2 separate regions of the Homo sapiens genome follow, and region 2 is linked to region 1. The links are contacts of gene promoters, found by promoter capture Hi-C in human tissues and cell types (Jung and others, 2019). All regions are on one chromosome and are shown on one strand. The core of a region is centred on a gene start or on the middle of the fragment in contact, and the rest is flanking DNA. Distances in the headings are between cores, read along the strand shown. Region 1 holds the start of PRDM6 (PR/SET domain 6). Region 2 has its middle 160 kb from the start of CEP120.

Evidence for each region. Contacts are between HindIII fragments. The study calls those that stand out against the background at their distance.
Region 2: a fragment that was not itself captured here is called in contact with the fragment with the promoter of PRDM6 in region 1 in 2 of the 25 tissues and cell types used here (adrenal gland and aorta).

Annotation. Positions count from the first base shown.
Region 1 is chr5:123,087,623-123,091,872 of GRCh38, forward strand. PRDM6 (PR/SET domain 6) reads left to right here and starts at 1,619. Exons shown (of 8, transcript NM_001136239.4): 1 at 1,619-1,897; 2 at 2,378-2,984. The coding sequence starts at 2,393. It overlaps PRDM6-AS1 (PRDM6 antisense RNA 1), which reads right to left and starts at 2,694. Exons shown (of 2, transcript NR_146771.1): 1 at 2,450-2,694; 2 at 1-317. RefSeq lists enhancers at 269-813, 814-1,358. The HindIII fragment of the contact is 7,641 bases long and covers 70-4,250 here.
Region 2 is chr5:123,265,714-123,270,108 of GRCh38, forward strand. No RefSeq gene overlaps it. Among named protein-coding and RNA genes, the nearest start is that of CEP120, 160 kb to the right of the region's middle. The HindIII fragment of the contact is 4,069 bases long and covers 415-4,395 here.

The DNA of each region.
Region 1 (4,250 bases), core at 369-2,868:
CGACAAGCCACTCTTCGGCAGTTCTGCGAGCAGATTAATTGAAACGGGCCTGGAACTTCATCCTCTCCTCCCGATGGAGTTGCTGGAGGTCTGCGGACACTGCCTGGTTAGCCTCCGGGACCACAGCGCCGTGGGCTTTCCCTCGTGGTGTCTGCCTTAAACTTGGGTGCTATCAATCTATCCAACAATGACGGATGACCTTGTCATAACGACGCCAGTCAAAACATTTTCGGTCTAACTCTCTTCCAACCAACATCGAAGCATCCTGAATGAGACCCGGATGAAGTCTGAACAGCACGTTTCCCAGGTTCAGAAAACTTGAGTGGTGGGAAGAGAAAAAGAAACAAGCAGAAATCAGGAAAGAATGGCTATTAATTGCTCAGATTGGCAAGTGCTAAATAAGTTAGGTTGTTTGGAAAAAGATAAATGCCGTTTCTTCTCTTTACGGTATGGCCAGAACCCCGGCGATGGGAAAGTACCTCCTGAGTCGGTCAATTTCACACACCCTGCCTGTGCCCTCTACCATCTACTACCGAAAATGCCAGGAAGAGCTGGGGGGCAAGTGCCTCCTTCGTGGGTGCGAGACTGCATCGAAGGGCTGCCCTGGCACAAAGTCTGGGGAGAGGACATGGTGGAGGTGGGGCTGCACTCCCACCCTGCCCCTCTAACACCAGGTTTTGGGTAGAGAAACCTATGCGTGACCTCCTGCGGCAGCCGCAGGCAGCTGACCGCAAACAGCCTCGCCCGTGTCCCGGAGCAGTTGTGCCACCAGACGTAACACTGGATACTTGTCTCCGGGCCCCAAGAAGGAGAGGGAAAGAGCCCTCCAGAAGACAACCCGAGAAGGGGTCAGCAGAGCGCTGGGTGGAGTGCAGACTCCATTGCAGCCGCCTCCCAGCCCCACGGCCAAGCTTGAGTCCCTCCAGGACCAGCTGCTCTCGGTCTCAGGACCCTCGGTCCTACGCCTCCCTGCACCGACAAGCCTCCCTCCTGGGCTGCAGACAGAGGGTTTCACTGCAGCGCGCAACCCGTCCCGCTCCGCCCCCAACTTTTCTCCCCGGAGGATTTATGTTAGAGGTTGCGTGGCGGGCGAGTGGACTCTGGCACCCAGAAGCACTTCAGGAAAAACTGAGCCGGGCAAAAGCGCAAACCCGGTCCTGGCGGCGCGGGCTTGCTCCAGCGCGGACACCACAGCGTGTGCGGAGATGCATTCCCGTTGCCGCATTTCCACTGCTTTCAAGATCAGGGCACTGAGCTGGGACCCAGAAAAGACATATCATGGGCAGAAAGAGACAACAGGCTAGCGGCAGACGTCACGCCAAAAAAACAGGGGATGGGAGGGCGGAGGAGTTTGTGCGGGAAAGGCGCTCTGGCGATGTGGGTCGGGCCGAATTAGAACTTCCTTCTTCCCTCTCCCCTCCCCTTCTTCTGGCCTGCCTCCCCTCCCCCCTCCGTTCTCTCTCTCTCTCTCTCTCTCTCTCTCTCTCTCTCTCTCTCTCTCTCTCACACACACACACACACACACACACACACACACACACACACACACACACACACACACACACACACTCACTCTATTTTGTGCTGTCGTAAAACCCACGTGTCCAGCCGGGAAGCTGCCAGAGCGTGGAACCAAGGAGCCAGGACGCGGCAGCGGCCAAGCGCAGCAGCCCACGGCGGTTGAGTCGGGCGCCCAGGTCCGTCCGCACTCTCGCGCCCTCCGCGGGCCTCCCAATTTTCTCGCTTGCAGGTCGGGAGGTTTCCGGGCGGCACAATCTCTAGGACTCTCCTCCCGCGCTGCTCAGGGGCATGTAGCGCACGCAGGGCGCACACTCTCGCGCACCCGCACGCTCACCGAGACACCCGCACGCACCCACCGGCAGCACCGAGTTTTCAGGTAAGGTGAGGCTGGTCTGGGACTTAAGAGTCTAGGGCTTGGTAGATAGGAAGGTTGGTGGTCCTAGGTTGGGGGCGGGCGGCGAGACTGTTCTGCCTCCTGGCGCCTGAGGCCAACGCGGCTCGGGCGCTGCGCCACGCCGGCTCGGGTCGGCTCCGGGCGCTGGCTGAGGGCGGGGGCTGCGTCCTGCAGCCGAGTTCTACGGGGCAGCGCCCTCCTGTCGGGCCCCAGCATTGCTGGATGGGAGCTGGACGCTGCGATCGGGGAGGCAGAGCAGGGTGCACACAGCTCCCTCTGTGCGGCGCCGCAGCTTCGGAGTAAACTTTGCGCCCAAGCGGAGTTGGGAAGAGGGAGCCGCGGAACCGGGCGGCCGCCGGCTGAACCACCGGCTCGGGCACTTTCTCCAGGGTCCCAGTGGCCCTCTTCCCGGCCCCTTTCGCCCAGCTCACGCGCCCCCTCTTCCCTGCCCTCTGCCCCCAGTTCGAGGCGCCGGACATGCTGAAGCCCGGAGACCCCGGCGGTTCGGCCTTCCTCAAAGTGGACCCAGCCTACCTGCAGCACTGGCAGCAACTCTTCCCTCACGGAGGCGCAGGCCCGCTCAAGGGCAGCGGCGCCGCGGGTCTCCTGAGCGCGCCGCAGCCTCTTCAGCCGCCGCCGCCGCCCCCGCCCCCGGAGCGCGCTGAGCCTCCGCCGGACAGCCTGCGCCCGCGGCCCGCCTCTCTCTCCTCCGCCTCGTCCACGCCGGCTTCCTCTTCCACCTCCGCCTCCTCCGCCTCCTCCTGCGCTGCTGCGGCCGCTGCCGCCGCGCTGGCTGGTCTCTCGGCCCTGCCGGTGTCGCAGCTGCCGGTGTTCGCGCCTCTAGCCGCCGCTGCCGTCGCCGCCGAGCCGCTGCCCCCCAAGGAACTGTGCCTCGGCGCCACCTCCGGCCCCGGGCCCGTCAAGTGCGGTGGTGGTGGCGGCGGCGGCGGGGAGGGTCGCGGCGCCCCGCGCTTCCGCTGCAGCGCAGAGGAGCTGGACTATTACCTGTATGGCCAGCAGCGCATGGAGATCATCCCGCTCAACCAGCACACCAGCGACCCCAACAACCGTACGTAGCCGCAGCCCGCGCGCTCTCTCCCGGGGCGCCGGCGCCGGCGCCGGCGGGCGCGGGTGCCTGTCAGGGAGGCGGGTCGGATAGGAGTGACACGGGGCCGGGTGGGTGGGGAGCACCTGGTCCTGGCCGCTGGCCCGCGCCTCCCCGATCTCTGTGACAAAAGTTTTCTGGCGTTGGAGAAGGAAAGAGAACGGATGGGACGGCCGGTGGCACTTTGGGGTTCCCTCTCCCTCCCTCTCCTCACCTGCTTCACAGTCCCAAGTGTTTGGGGCCGGAGTCTACCGTGGACCCGGCCTAACAGACCTCTGCCCTCCCGCCGGACAGTGCCCGGGGCCAGGCGGGTACTGGCAGCGTGTGACAGGGGGTGTCTGGGTCAGGCCCTGCCTGGCCTTAGCCGGGACGAGGGAGGGACCCTCAGCGTCTCTGGGGAGCACGCAGACCAGGGCTTGTTTTTGCTACTCTCCACCCCACCTCTGGAGGGGTCATTTTCGGGCCGCGGGGTTGTGGGGGAACCGGCGGGAGCTGTTCGCTGGCCAGGCCTCACTGGAGTAGGAATTTTAGATGAAACTGAGTCCGTTTCTCCTTGAAGGCAGGCAGTATTCTTAGATCTACTATTCATTTAAAAAGAAGGAAAAGAAAAAAAAATGACTGCTACTTACTGAGAAGAAAATTTCTGTTCTCCTCCGATTCCGCTGATCCCGCTTTATCCGCGCACCTTTGACCCCGCAAACATTCATAACCCATGTTGGTTTATGTATTTATTTTTAGAAATTAGGGTGACTGTAATTTAGTAAAAGACGCTTACTCCCCTCTTCCTCCAAGTTAATAGCAAATGCCTAACTAAACATCAGAATTCCTGTAGCTTCGGTTTCTATATTCACAATTTGAAACGCTTATCACAAGTACAGTTCCATTTGGCGGTTTTGAAGCAAAACTCTAAATGAAGATCAAGCAATATGTACTGCTTTATACCTGCTTCTTTTTGATAATTTCAGAAGTTATACTGTGTTTACACCTATACTGTGTTGGGAGTGTTAAACGTGCTCCCAGAGACTTCTGGAGATAACATTAAAGTGTGTTAAGAGCGTCAGATTGAAAGCAATACAGGATTTGAAAGATCAGCATTCATTCAGCTATTTTCTTCATCTCATTCCTTCGTCTGGCTTCTGTATGAGTAAAGTTAATTTAAAACATTTATTTTTATTCAATTTTGAATAAGTTGCTTCTTGCAAAATGTCTACCGCTCTGTGAACTTCTTAA
Region 2 (4,395 bases), core at 1,199-3,698, 180 kb after region 1:
CCAGTATTTCTTAAGCAGGAATATTTATGTAACAATTGTGGCTTGGCTCTCTAGGAACCCATGATAAAACTGCTATGAGCAGTGTCTCAGAGCTCTGGTGATCACTATGTGGTAGCTGTATTGCAACCAAGCTACCTGGCCAACTTACGTCTGCTGTCTCAGGGTGTTCCTAAAGAAGTTTGACCTTTTAGCAAGAAGCCTAACAACCCATAATAAAAGTATTTTCCCAGGCTGTGCAGCCACCATAATTACTCCCATTATTTTTGAATAGTAAAGAAAACCATAATAAATCTTCAGAGGATACAATGATATTAATAATGATGATGATAGCAGCTGGCATTCATGCACAATGGCCTTACACTGTGCTAAGTGCTATCCATTCATTATATCATGACATCTCATAGATATGACTGTGCAGAAGAAGCAAGACACAACAGAGTATGGTTCTACTTGTACAAAGTTCTGCAACAGGCAAAACTAACCTAGGGAGATGAAAGTCAGATCATTGGTTGTCTGGGCGGGGGATGAGGCAGAACTGTAATGGGGTTTGTGGGAACTTTCTAGGGAGGAAAATGTTCCATATCTTGGTTGGGGTGCGTGGTTACATGGGTGGATACATTGGGAGACCTAACCATCTGGTGGCTATCTGGTGAACTTTCTGCACTAAGAAGACTGCAGGCTTATGGGTCATGCCTCTTACAAGAGTGGTGCACAGGCTTTATTTTTGCATGCAACTCACCTGGAATGTTTACTTAAAATTCAGATGTCTGTGTTCTTCTCAACATGACTAAAAAAGATTCTCTAGGAATAGACCCTGAAATCTGCACTTTAAGCCATCATTTCTGTGCTTGTTTCAGCAGCAGCACATATACTAAGCCATCATTGCTGCAACATTTCTGAAGCAGAAATCCAAGGTCTGCACTACCTTGCTTTTAGTTTGACTTCTTGCCTGTGGCTGGGTGTGTTGTGGACCAGGTGAGTCTATAGATGGTTCTGCAAAAACCCATTGCTGTTCCTAAAAACCTCATTCAGGGTACCTGAGAATAGTGACTGTTTTTTGTGTTTGAATGAAAGGGTTTTATGTAAACAAAACAAAAAGAAAAGTGACATACACCAAGATGACCAGTAATCACTAGGCCTTTTTCTCAGCAGTGCCTCCTGCCACTTCATTTCCTTATTACTCCTCTTCTCATGCCCCAAAGATGTGTTTTGTTCACCTGGGCAACTGGTTTTTAATTGATTTTTTAATAAAGTTATTTCTTGCTGTCTTTCACTCTGATTAAGAAGCATAGCATGATCTCATCAGGCCTGGACAAGTATTGATGGGCTGGGGTATCATGGGGCTAATAAAGAGTGTTATACAGTATTTTTTAGTGACACATAAAAACTCCCTCATGAAAGATACGGAGGCAGAGCGTAATATATATGTCATTCTAGGAACAGTGGTATTAGGGTGTCTATTGCTGGACATTAGTGATTTCATTAATGCACTAAGACAGGCCTCTGTTAGGGATAAGTGGTGGGGAGTGGGCACTGGTGGGTCAGAAGGAATGCAAAGGGAAGGCCCTCACAGAACAAAGGGCCCTGTAGGTTTCTAGGTCTTTCTAGATATGCAGTAATCTAATAAAATACTTCAGATGACTAGGAAAAGAATAATTTAATTCAACACTTTATTTACCCATCTTCAACTTTGCTTTTCCCCAAAACACTATTTAAAATATTTCAGAAGGGATGAGGTGTTGAAAGGCAGAAGTGCTTTTGAATTTTTCTTTTTTTACTCATTATACCTTTAAGTTCAATCTGATCCACTCTACTCCTTGGATTACTGGGAGGAAGAAGAATTGAGGTTTCGTGAGAGAAATGATTTGGGACATTCCCAGCTACTGCTTTGGGCTCCTATTTCAATTCAGTATTAATTGTAATAAGTATTTAGTGCAGAAAAAAAGAAAACGGCCAGTATGAGCACAAAGAGCCCAGCCTTGCCATGAAGGGACCATCTGGCTTTTGGAGATTCCAGGTAACCTCACTAGGTCAAAGGGCAGGAGAGATTTTGAAGCATGAAGCTTTTTTTTTTTTTTTTTTTTGCCAGCTTTAAAATGTGGTTGTAACTGGGAATAGTGGCATCTGCCTGTGGTCCCAGCTACTAGGGAGGCCAAGGTAGGAGGATTGATTGAACCCAGGAGGCTGAGGCTGCAGTGAGCCATGATCACACCACTGCACTCCAGACTGAGTGAGAGAGGAAGACCCTGCCTCAAGAAAAAAAAAAAAAAAAAGTGATTATTCTGGGATATCATTTGCCCAGCATCGCCTTAGGGCCATGGGAGATAGAACACATTTAAGACCATCCATCCTTTTCCAGGAAGAGACTGCCTGAAGTACACAAACTATAGGAAAGGAAATACATGCACGTCCAAATTCATGCAACCCTCATATTTCAAAGAAACAAATATGTAATCGTCCTTCCAAAGCGTACATTTTGAAATACATTTTTAAAATTTGATATGTTAGAAAACAACTGAGAAAATCATTTTAAAGATAGCAGACTATAATTCTCTTTTTATTTAGTCTCTACTTTCTCATTATCCATTGACTTCATTGCTTTCAGGGGATTTGTGTTAAGCAGGTAGGGACAAATGCCAGTGGAATTTGAATTATTACCTTTAATGTAACTCTGTGTGTACCTACAGGCCTGAAGAAACTCAGGGTGTGTGTGTATCTGCAAGATTGGAGTCACACTGTGATTCATATTAAGGAGCATGGATATTACCCCATGTGCAATCAGTTTCCATGCCATGGAGATTTTGAGTGAATCTCGCTAATTCTTGCATTCATCTAACAAATGATAATTATTTTGTTTTTGAGACAAAGTCTCACTCTGTCACCCAGGCTAGAGTGCAGTGGTGCAATCTCGGCTCACTGCAACCTCTGCCTCCCGGGTTCAAGCGATTCTCCTGCCTCAGCCTCCCGAGTAGCTGGGACTACAAGCACCTGCCACCATGCCCAGATAATTTTTTTCTTTTCTTTCTTTCTTTTTTTTTTTAGTAGAGTTGGGTTTTCACTGTGTTAGCCAGGATGGTCTCGATCTCCTGACCTAGTGATCCGCCCGCCTCGGCCTCCTAAAGTGCTGGGATTACAGGTGTGAGCCACCGCGCCTGGCCATTTAACGAATAGTTATTGTCGTGTTCCCTCTCCACATGTTTCAGTTTCCCACTGACACTTGACTCCTTCAATTTTTGCATTGTTTTGTTTTGCAACTAAAAGCCCAGAAGCAGTTGTAGGAATAACTTCCAAATGAAAAGTTACAAAATGAGAATGATTCAGGGTCCCAGATGATGAGTAACCTATAAGTATAATAAAGCTATTGACAAAAATTTGATTTATTTTCTCCAATTCCTCTGATGTTAGCATTAAAAAAAATCCTTGTTTTCACGAAGTGTTTGCTGAGCAAATTTAGAAAGCATAAATAAGCAAATAAGAAATAAAAAAGAAAATATAGGCCACAGATTGCCCCATCATCGCCTCCCAGAGGTAATTGCTGCTAACATTCTTTTTTGTGCCTCCTTACCTATATACATAGAATTGGGTTTCATATTGAATTTTTCAAAAATGAGATCAGGCTGTACGAACAGTTTTGGACTGTGCTTATCTATTTGTTATGTCCTGAATACCATTTTTTTTTTTATACGATTTGGATACAGATGACAGCTGAGGAACTATCTTTCTTCCGTGTAAGTGACCGTAAGCCTTGGGCTTGCTGTAGTCCCTCGTCTTTTCTGGGCATGCTTTTCCTGTGTCAGAAGATAATACTAGTTATAGATAACATTCATCAAACACTTAGTATATGTTAACCACCTTAATAGAGTTCTCTTGTAATTTTCAAAACAACCCTATGAAGCCCATTTTACAGAAGAGGAAATTGAGGCACTAAGAGGTCAAAAGCATACAGCTAATATATGGTAAAGCCAACACTGGACTCTAGGCAGTCTGACTCCATGATCCTAAGCCCTATTCCCACTTCCTGAAAACGTGTTTAGATATATTGGATTTGGACAGGATTTAAAAGCTTCAAGCCCAATCCTAAAGCCAGTAGACAGCTTGTACATCACCTGGTCCAATACTCTTGATTTCTTTCAAGGAACTTAAGTCCAGGCTCCCAAGTCACCTTCTGCTGTTCTTTCTACTCTACCACACTGCCCCCATGACATCCCACTTTATTTTTCCCTTTCAAAATGCTGTGACTTGAGTGTTTGGGGACATGAAAGATTAATAACCTCGGTCTGGACAGGGCTGACCGTGGGCAGGCCTTGTGAGAACTTTTCCCACACTTCAGTGCCAACAGGTCTCAGGCCTGGACGGCACAACCCTGTTATTCTTTCTAGCTGTGGGCCTCCCAGA